Regions from separate parts of the Homo sapiens genome. Here region 1 is linked to region 2. The links are contacts of gene promoters, found by promoter capture Hi-C in blood cells and fetal thymus (Javierre and others, 2016). All regions are on one chromosome and are shown on one strand. The core of a region is centred on a gene start or on the middle of the fragment in contact, and the rest is flanking DNA. Distances in the headings are between cores, read along the strand shown. Region 1 overlaps FGD5-AS1 (FGD5 antisense RNA 1). Region 2 holds the start of MKRN2 (makorin ring finger protein 2).

What was found. The method cuts DNA at HindIII sites, captures the fragments that hold promoters and counts their contacts. A CHiCAGO score of 5 or more calls a contact.
Region 1: a fragment that was not itself captured here is called in contact with the fragment with the promoter of MKRN2 in region 2 in 1 of 17 cell types (total CD8 T cells); the score reaches 5.0 in total CD8 T cells.

The regions. Positions count from the first base shown.
Region 1 is chr3:14,943,539-14,946,703 of GRCh38, forward strand. FGD5-AS1 (FGD5 antisense RNA 1) reads right to left here. Exons shown (of 2, transcript NR_046251.1): 2 at 1-2,616. Among named protein-coding and RNA genes, the nearest start is that of NR2C2, 2.5 kb to the right of the region's middle. The HindIII fragment of the contact is 2,041 bases long and covers 231-2,271 here.
Region 2 is chr3:12,553,505-12,559,175 of GRCh38, forward strand. MKRN2 (makorin ring finger protein 2) reads left to right here and starts at 3,583. Exons shown (of 8, transcript NM_014160.5): 1 at 3,583-3,672. The coding sequence starts at 3,647. It also overlaps a transcript of MKRN2OS not described here. RefSeq lists enhancers at 3,203-3,312, 3,363-3,422, 3,810-4,333, 4,243-4,302 and a silencer at 3,593-3,682. The HindIII fragment of the contact is 4,764 bases long and covers 454-5,217 here.

The sequences.
Region 1 (3,165 bases), core at 1-2,500, 2.4 Mb after region 2:
CACACACACAAGGGCTGGGTACTGCCAGATCTGTATCACTCCGGAGCAACGACCTGTCTCTCTGAATGATCTCTGGCATGGTAAAAGAGTTAACTGTATTTCAAAAGGTGAAACAAAACTTTTTTTGCTTTGTTATGCATGTTTCAAATTGATCAGTGGTTCAGGCCTGGAGTATGCATCAGAATTATCTGTGAAGCTTAGTGAAAGTGCTGATGCCAGAGCCCACCCAAAGCTTACTGCTTCAGAACCACTGGGGACCTGGCAGTTCTGATGTGCACGACTAGTCAAGAATCCTTTAAAGGCTGATAAAGCAATCTTGAAATCACTGTCAATGCAAAAGTGGATGTTCCTCATTAATAAGAACTCAAAAAATAAAGTACAGCTAGTATAAGACTTGTTTTTTGTGCCTATAAAACCCAAGTGTTAGCTACTTTCTAACTATAAAATTCTATCCAAAAAGACTTGCAGTCAAAACACCGAGCCAAAAAACAAAAAAGGCACCAAAGCAGTGCCGACTTCAATGTGCAAAGGCCTTTTACGTGCTGATATTGTAAGCAATCTGTGTGCATGTGTACATATGCATCTGTTTTCAGGGAAAGAAAAGCTGTTAAAGCCAATTAAGGTTATGAATTCTTGCTACTACTTTAATATTAAACCTTTAAGTGAAAATTTATTGAACACTATTACAAATGTGGCAAACTGACATAGCTGGTTTACTGCACAAACTTTAATGTCAAAGGGATTAGATCAGAGCTCCAGTCTCACTTACTGGGCCTATAACATTGTGCAGGGCACTTATCTCACCTCAGGAAAATGGAAGTAACTGCTTCATTTTACAGAGGTATTAAATGAAAGAAATGAGAAAACTATAAACCAACATTGAAGCCTGAATTATTGCTTAGTATTTAAAGTCTAGTACAATTGCAATGTTTTTAATAAAAAAACTCATTGATAGGTGTATTTTTACAGTGTATCTAAAAGCAGCATTTAACATTAAAAACTTAGTATTTAAAAGAGTACACAACCAGGCAGGGTGTGGTGGCTCACGCCTGTAATCCTAACACTTTGGGAGGCCAAGATGGGAGGATCACTTGAGGCCAGGAGTTCGAGACCAGCCTGGTCAACACAGCGAGACCCCAACTTTTTTTTTTTTTGAGACAGTTTCGCTCATCGCCCAGGCTGGAGTGCAATGGTGTGATCTCGGCTCACTGCAACCTCTGCCTCCCGAGTTCAAATGATTCTCCTGTCGCAGCCTCATGAAGTAGCTGGAATTAGATGCCCGCCACCCCGCCTAGCTAATTTTTTTGTATTTTTAGTAGAGATGGGGTTTTACCATGTTAGTCAGGCTGGTCTTGAACTCCTGACCTCAGGTGATCCACCCACCTCACCTTCCCAAAATGCTGGGATTACAGGCATGAGCCACCATGCCCGGCCAATGCCATCTATTAAAAAAACAAAGAAAAAGAGTACACAACCACAAAGCACTGGGCCAAATGCATTGTTTCCATGTTTGCAAGGATTTACCATAGAAATATTAGGTTGATGCAAAAATTAAATTTCCAGACTGCGAATTTTAAATCATTGTAACTACGCTAAAACATATTCTATTAATCAAAACAGGAACCATTACAATCAACACATTTTTGCCAATGAGAAATGTTTGTTTATTCCTGTAGCATAAAAATCCGTGCTTCAGGATTTGACGAACTCTTGGAAAGCATTTTCTGCACCATGCTGAAGTGTTTTCCCTGCAAAAAGTTGTCAAGATGCTAGCAGAAGTGGTAGTCAGTTGGCGAAAGGTCAGGTGAATATGGTGGATGAGGCAAAACTTTGTAGCCCAATTCCTTCAACTTTTGAAGCACTGGTTGTGCGACACGCAGTCAGGTGTTGTCGTGGAGAAGAATTGGGCCCTTTCTGTTGACCAATGCAGGCAGCAGGTATTGCAGTTTTCGGTGCATCTTACCAATTTGCTGAGCATACTTCTCAGATGTAATGGTTTCACCAGGATTCAGAAAACTGTAGTGGATCAGATGGGCAGCAGACCACCGAACAGTGACCATGACCTTTTTTTTGGTGCAAGTTTGGCTTTGGGAACTGCTTTGGAGCTGCCTCTTGGTCCAACCACTGAGCTGGTTGTTGTATAAAATTCACTTTTCATTACATGTCACAATCCGATTGAGAAATGGTTTGTTGTTGCGTAGCATAAAAGAAGACTACACTTCAAAACGATAGTTTTGATTTCCGCTCAGCTCATGAGGCACCCACTTATCAAGCTTTTTCACCTTTCCAATTTGCTTCGAATGCTGAACGACCCTAATGACCGTAGAATAGTCAACGCTGAGTTCTTCTGTAATTTTTCATGTAGTTCAATGATTGCTCTCAATTGGTCGTTGTCAACTTCCCATGGCCCATATCACGTTCCTCATCTTCAAGGCTCTCTTCCTTGCAAAACTTCTTAAGCCACCACTGCACTGTATGTTTGTTAGCAGTTCCTGGGCCAAATGTGTTACTGATGTTTTGAGTTGTCTTCGCTGCTTTATGAACCATTTTGAACTCGAATAAGAAAACTGCTCCAAATTTGCTTTTTATCTAACATCATTAGACAAAAAGCATATTCTAAAATAAACAGCAATAAGTCATTAGCAAAAAAATAAAGTGAGAAATGTGCATTAAAATGATCCACATTTATTTAAGAATGTATTCCAATATCAAACAGCAAATTTCAAAAATGCAAAAACGCAATTGCTTTTGCCTCTCAGGTACATCACTTGACCTTTCTAGTTCTCACCCACTTCACCCCTAAAATCGGAAAATCTTTCTGCAAGAAAAAAATTTGACCACATTCCCTTAAGGCCTCTTCCAATTTCAAGAGCTGTGCTTTACCATGACAAAACGAACCTAGCTCTTTTCCCAATTTTGCAACGTCAGAAAAAGGAGGAAGGGGAAATAGCTGTGTTTAAAACATTTTTTACCAAATAGAAATATTATAAGATTATGGAAAAAAAAATACTAAATGTTGGAGTCATCCTGATAAAAACCCAAATGGATACTGTGTGGGAAAAAAAGTTAACCCATCCATTCTGGAGTCAATATTTATTCTTAATAAGCAAGAAAACTGAAGAAAAAAAATCAGTATAAGATCTACAGCCTGTAGCCTAAACACTT
Region 2 (5,671 bases), core at 2,333-4,832:
TAATTTGGCAATGGATAGCCTAAAAAAATCTAGGGCTAACATTTTAATTAAAATATTAAATAATTTTAAAGTAAAATATTAAATATTTTTATTGAATCCAGGAACAAAATAAGATGTACACTATTACTACTTCTCTTTAACATTGTTCTGAAGGCTGTAGACAGTGCATGCAATAAGGCAAGGAAAAGAAATAAAAGATACAAAGATGAAAAGGAAGCAAAACTGTCATTATTTGCTGATGGCGTGATTGTGTATAGAAAATCGATAACTAACTACAAATAAACCATTAGAATTAATTCAAAATTTAGCATGGAGCTGAATCCCAAGTCAGTATACAAAGATCCAGTGTATTTCTATATATAAGCAACAAGCAATTCGGAAATTTTAGGAATATCATTTAAAATAGCATCGAAAACCGCTTCTAGGGGCAGGTCGGCACACAAAGAAAACGAAAGCTTTGCAAGACCCTCGGCGCACGTCTGCGCAAAGGGTCTCTGTGTCTCTACGCCCAGATGGCCATTTTGAGTCCCGAGCTGGCAGCCACCCTTCTCTTCTGTTTTCTCAGCTTCTTCACCCGCTTCTATCTGATAGCCTTTTTCTCCCGAGTGTTTGGTAGCAAAGTTGCTTTTCCTAAGGGGCGAGAACGGGAGCTGGTGGTTAGCAAGCAGACGCAGTTTTACGCGCCCCTGCTACGGGCAGGAGCGAGTGGCCCTGCCTTCTCTGCCAGCGCGGGTTCCCTGGGGGTGAGGAAAGTGAGTTCCACGTCCCGGGTGGGGCAGGACTTGGTGTTTAGTGCCCAGCGCCAGATAACGCCGGAAGAACCCCAAGTGGAGACTGCTTGCATCCTTCGGGAAAAGTCTAAGTGCTAAGTACCATGACAGTGGCAGGAACCAAGCTGTTGGGTACAGCTTGTGGAAGTGCACACTGGCTGTCGTTGATCCAGTGTTGTATTATTTTTTCATAAATATATATGAAATATATGAAATATATATGAAATATAAAAATATATATATATATTGCCCATGACACAGACCTCAGGAGATCCTGAGAACATGTGCCCGATCCAGTGTTTTATTTGCACAGACACCCTAAAGGGCACCAGCAGTACAAGGCTGATGAAATAACTTATGGCATAGTCGTACAACGGAATACTATACAGTTCTACGAAAGGAGGAAGAGGCTCTATGTACTGATATGGAAAAATCTCCACTGATTATGTACGCTGTGCAGAACAGTACGTTATGTTATCTTTTCTACAAAAAGGAGAAAATAATATATATGTATTTACTTGTGTATATTTAAAGAAATTCTGGAAAGATGTATACAAATTTGATAACAGTGGCCAGGTTTTGAGGTTTTAAAAAATGTTTCTGCTTTTTGTTTTGAAGAGGCGGGAACTAAATTGACAGGAGACTGAGACTTTTCACTTTACGCTTTTAAAATATTTGAACATAATAACGTTCAGATCGTGAATGTATTCCATAAAGAATGAGATAAGCTGAATTTTAAAAATAAGTGGCATGGGCTGGGCGCGGTGGCTCTCGCCCGTAATCCCAGCACTTTGGGAGGCCGAGGCGGGTGGATTGCCTGAGCTCAGAAGTTCGAGACCAGCCTGGGCAACAGGGTGAAACCCCGTCGCTACTAAAACACAAAAAATCAGCTGGGCGTGGCAGCGTGCGCCTGTATAATCCCAGCTACTCCGGAGGCTGAGACAGGAGAATCGCTTGAACACGGGAGGTGGAGGTTGCAGTGAGCCAAGAGCATGCCACTGCACTCCAGCCTGGGTGACAGAGCAAGACTCCGTCTCAAAAAAAAAAAAAAAAAAGACGTGTAATTTTTATGAGCATGAATTGCATGGATCAAATGTGTTATGAGTTAAAATGCAATATTCAAGACACTGAAAACAAAATTTCCAGTATACTTCCAAATTCCTGAGAAAAATTTCAAAAGTTCTAAATAATTGGAAGTATATACCATGCTCATTCATTGGAAGACTCAATATTTTTATAGCAAAGTAAAAAAAGAACATACAGCTATACATACATAACATGGAAAGATCTCACAGATAAAATGTTGGTCAAAAGAAGGCAGACAAAAGCGTAGGTACTGAATTATTATTTATATGAAAGTCAAGAACAGTTAAACTAATTTATAGTGATAGAGATGAACCCAAGCAATGACCTTTGTAAAGTATTGCCTGGGAAGGACCATAAGGAAGCCCTTCTGGGGTGTCGATAATATCCAGCCCCCACCCACCCCCTGCAGCCTCGACTGCAGTGAACTATGCTCAAAGGATCCTTCCGGCTCAACCTCTCCTTACTCCAGCATTTTGAAGTTTAGTCGAGCATGGTGTCGCGCACCTGTATTCCCAGCTGCTGGGGAGGTTAAGGCAGAGGACTGCTTGAACTATGATGGCGCCACTGCACTCCAGCCTGGGCGACAGAGCAAGACCCTGCCTCAAAACAAAACAAAAAATTCTTTATTTTGATCTGGGTGGTAGTTTCATGAGTGTATGCATGTGCAAAAATTCATAGAATGTGTTTGGTGCACTTATATTGTGCATGTTATGTATCTCGAGTTTTTAAGCAATGAGAAACCATTGTAAGATTAAAAGGTGAATGACATGATCCGATTTATGTTTTAAAAATAGATTTTTACCAGGAACGGAAGCCAGAAGACCAGTTAAAAGGCTATCGCATGGCTGGCCAGGCGTGCACGCCTGTAATTCCAGCTACGTGGAAGGCTGAGAGGCAGGAGAATCGCTTGAACCCGGGAGGCGGAGGTTGCAGTGAGCCGAGATCGCCCCACTGCACTCCAGCCTGGGCAACAAGAGAGAAACTCCGTCTCAAAAAAATAAAAAATAAAATAATAATAATTAAAAAAAAAGGTATCGCATGGTGCTAGGTAGAAGGGACGGTGGAAAGGGGGCAGAAGAGGACGCATTGGACAGAGGTGTGGGAGCAGAATCTGCAGGGTATAGAGAGCTAGAGGGAAGTGTCAAAAATAACTTTTGGGGTTTCCACCATAGGAAATGGAAGACGAGCAGCACAAGACTGGCAGGAAAGAAAATGAAGACTAAAACTTGTGGAAGTAGAGATTTGGGGAAAGAGCAGTTGGGAGAGAGCTAAGGAATTTCCTTAAGTGGGAGGCGAGGTCCGGCGGGAACAGTTGAGGCAGGGCCTGAGAAGGGTGCCCAGTGAGTGCGAGTATGAATGGATAGGGGCATCCGGGATTAAGAGGAGAGGCTGGAGTTTCCCCAGGAGTGGTGAAGTGCCTCGAAGGAGGCGGGAGATCCCTAAGGAATACTCTTGGCGATCGGGGCAGAATCGCAGGCACTAACAGTAGGCATCGGGATAAGACTGGCAGGACTAAGATGCCAGCCAGGCTCCGCCCCGGAGGCTTGGAAGTGCGGGACACCGAGAGCAGGGATGCCGGGACAGCCGGCCCGATCCCCGGTGCGGAACCAATTGTGACGACGGCTAGGTTACCCGCCGGCGCTACAAAGGTGCCACACCGGAGGGGCGGCGTGCGCCGGCGTGCGCCGGCGTGACGCGGCTACGCGGGATGGGCCGGGCCAGGGCCAAGGCCGAGGCGGCAGCGGCTGCGAGAGGCGGCGGCACGACGACGGTCCCTCAGCCCAGCCACCATGAGCACCAAGCAGATCACTTGCAGGTCAGTGCGCTGGAGCCAGGAGCTTCGGGCCGCTCCCCCAGGCCGCAGGGGGGCCGGTGCGCGCCAGTGCTGTGGTCCGGGAACCTGAGGCTAGAGCGGGACTCGGAAAGTTACTCGGCTGTTCGCGGCGGGGCTTTGCGAGGCAGAGCGAGCGCTGCCGCCACAGCCGGGGATCCGGGGGATGCGTGGCCGAGACGCTGGGCGAGGCCAGCGCGGGGGGCTACGCCCCGAGTTTGAAGCGTGGCCCCTGTGGGCTGGGAGGAAGGACGTCCTAGCCAGGGCCGTGCAGGATGCCGGGGCGCTGTCGGGAAGGCTCTGGGGCTTACGCTTTAACTGGAAAAGATTTGAAGTTGAGTAAAGGGACGCCGAGAGGACGGTTACAAATGGGGATACCACATAGGAGTAATTTGTTAATCGATTATGAGGGCCTCAAAGTTTGGAGAATCCAGATGCAATCTAAACTTGCAGAGAGTTAACAAGTAAAAGTTGTTGTGTGGAAAATAACGACAGGTAGCATATTGTGAATATCGGCGAAGCGCCCTGCATATTTCCAAGTCCTTTATATTCATTATCATCAGACTTCACAGTAAGACAACTTAGTAGTTATTATTACCATTTTACAGTGCAGGAAACTGAGACCGAAAGACGTTGACACTCATTTATCTTACTGAGAGAGCCATTTACGAGGAGAAATGCGACGGTAATGGATGGTTTATTGTAGAAAATAGCCAGATAGCTACACTACGACTGCTCCTATGAAATAGAATAGTGTGGTTGTGTAACACCCTCATTGCTTGGTCAGCTTGTGGCTTACTGGTAATGGAGTCTAGTCCTATTGAATTGTATGTTTGGAAAACGCAAATTGAATTGTATGCTTGGAAAATGCAAATTTCATTTAATAATTTTTATGGGAAACATTGCTTAAAAACAGTTATAGAGTTTGTGTAATAAACAGTTTATTTTCTATGTTGTTACTTCTCTTCATTGGTATGAATAGTTGAGACGTGACTGTGTAGTAAGTTTTCTGTTAGCATTAGTGTACATTTACTGTTCAATTTATCCAAGGCCCAGGTGGCTTATGTTAAGCTGTTGTCAGAAATTTGCACCTAGTGTCTATAAAAAGACTTTTACTAGGTTATTTGTACTAGAAGGTGTTTTGTGAAGACGGGTTTGTGTGTGTTTACGTATTTTTATTTGTATAAAGTTTCTCCTGCTGGAGGAAGTATTCCTAGGTCATTGTGCACTGTAAAGCAGCTTGTAGCCTCCTAGAAAAACCTCTGTATTCCTCCCCTCGCTCTATGGTTTAATTCTACCATTTATTCCCGTACCTCATCTAAGAAGTGTCCACAAAACAGTACACATTTATGTAATAATGCTTTATAATTGAATCTCAACTCTGTAGTATCTTATTTTACAAATAAGGAATCTTATGCTCAGAAAGACTTGAAATTTGCCTAAAATTTTACACCTTAGTAGAGGCACAAGGACCTAAATCAGGATCATCTTGGTTTTTTCCTTGTATACCTGGAGATAGCTTGACTTGAAAGCTTTAATTCTGTTTCCCAAACAGGGGTGTTCTGTAGGATGTTGCTCCATATAAATGAAGATTGGGTTGGAATGTTGAGAAGGGATCACTTCTGTTTAAGTGTTTAGTCATGTTTGTTGGGGACTTACAATGTGCTGCGGCTCTTAGGTACTGTAGTGTATAATCCAGCAACCAGCGCTCTTCCACAGATCGTAAAACTGAGCCTCAGCATTGAAGCGACTTGCCTAAGGTCATTTAGCTTCCAAGTGACAGAGGTGTGAAATCAAAGTTCATGCCCTCATAGACTGTAGGGCCTCCAGATAAGTTTTGAAATGCTAAATTAAAATTTATTTATTGCAGGACTTATCAAAGCTTTTAATGTGTTCCCATGAAAGGAAACTCATACAAGGATATGTAAAACTGCAAAGAAGTTTACTCACAAAAGGGTGTAAAGGAGTCAGGGCTCCCGATGAC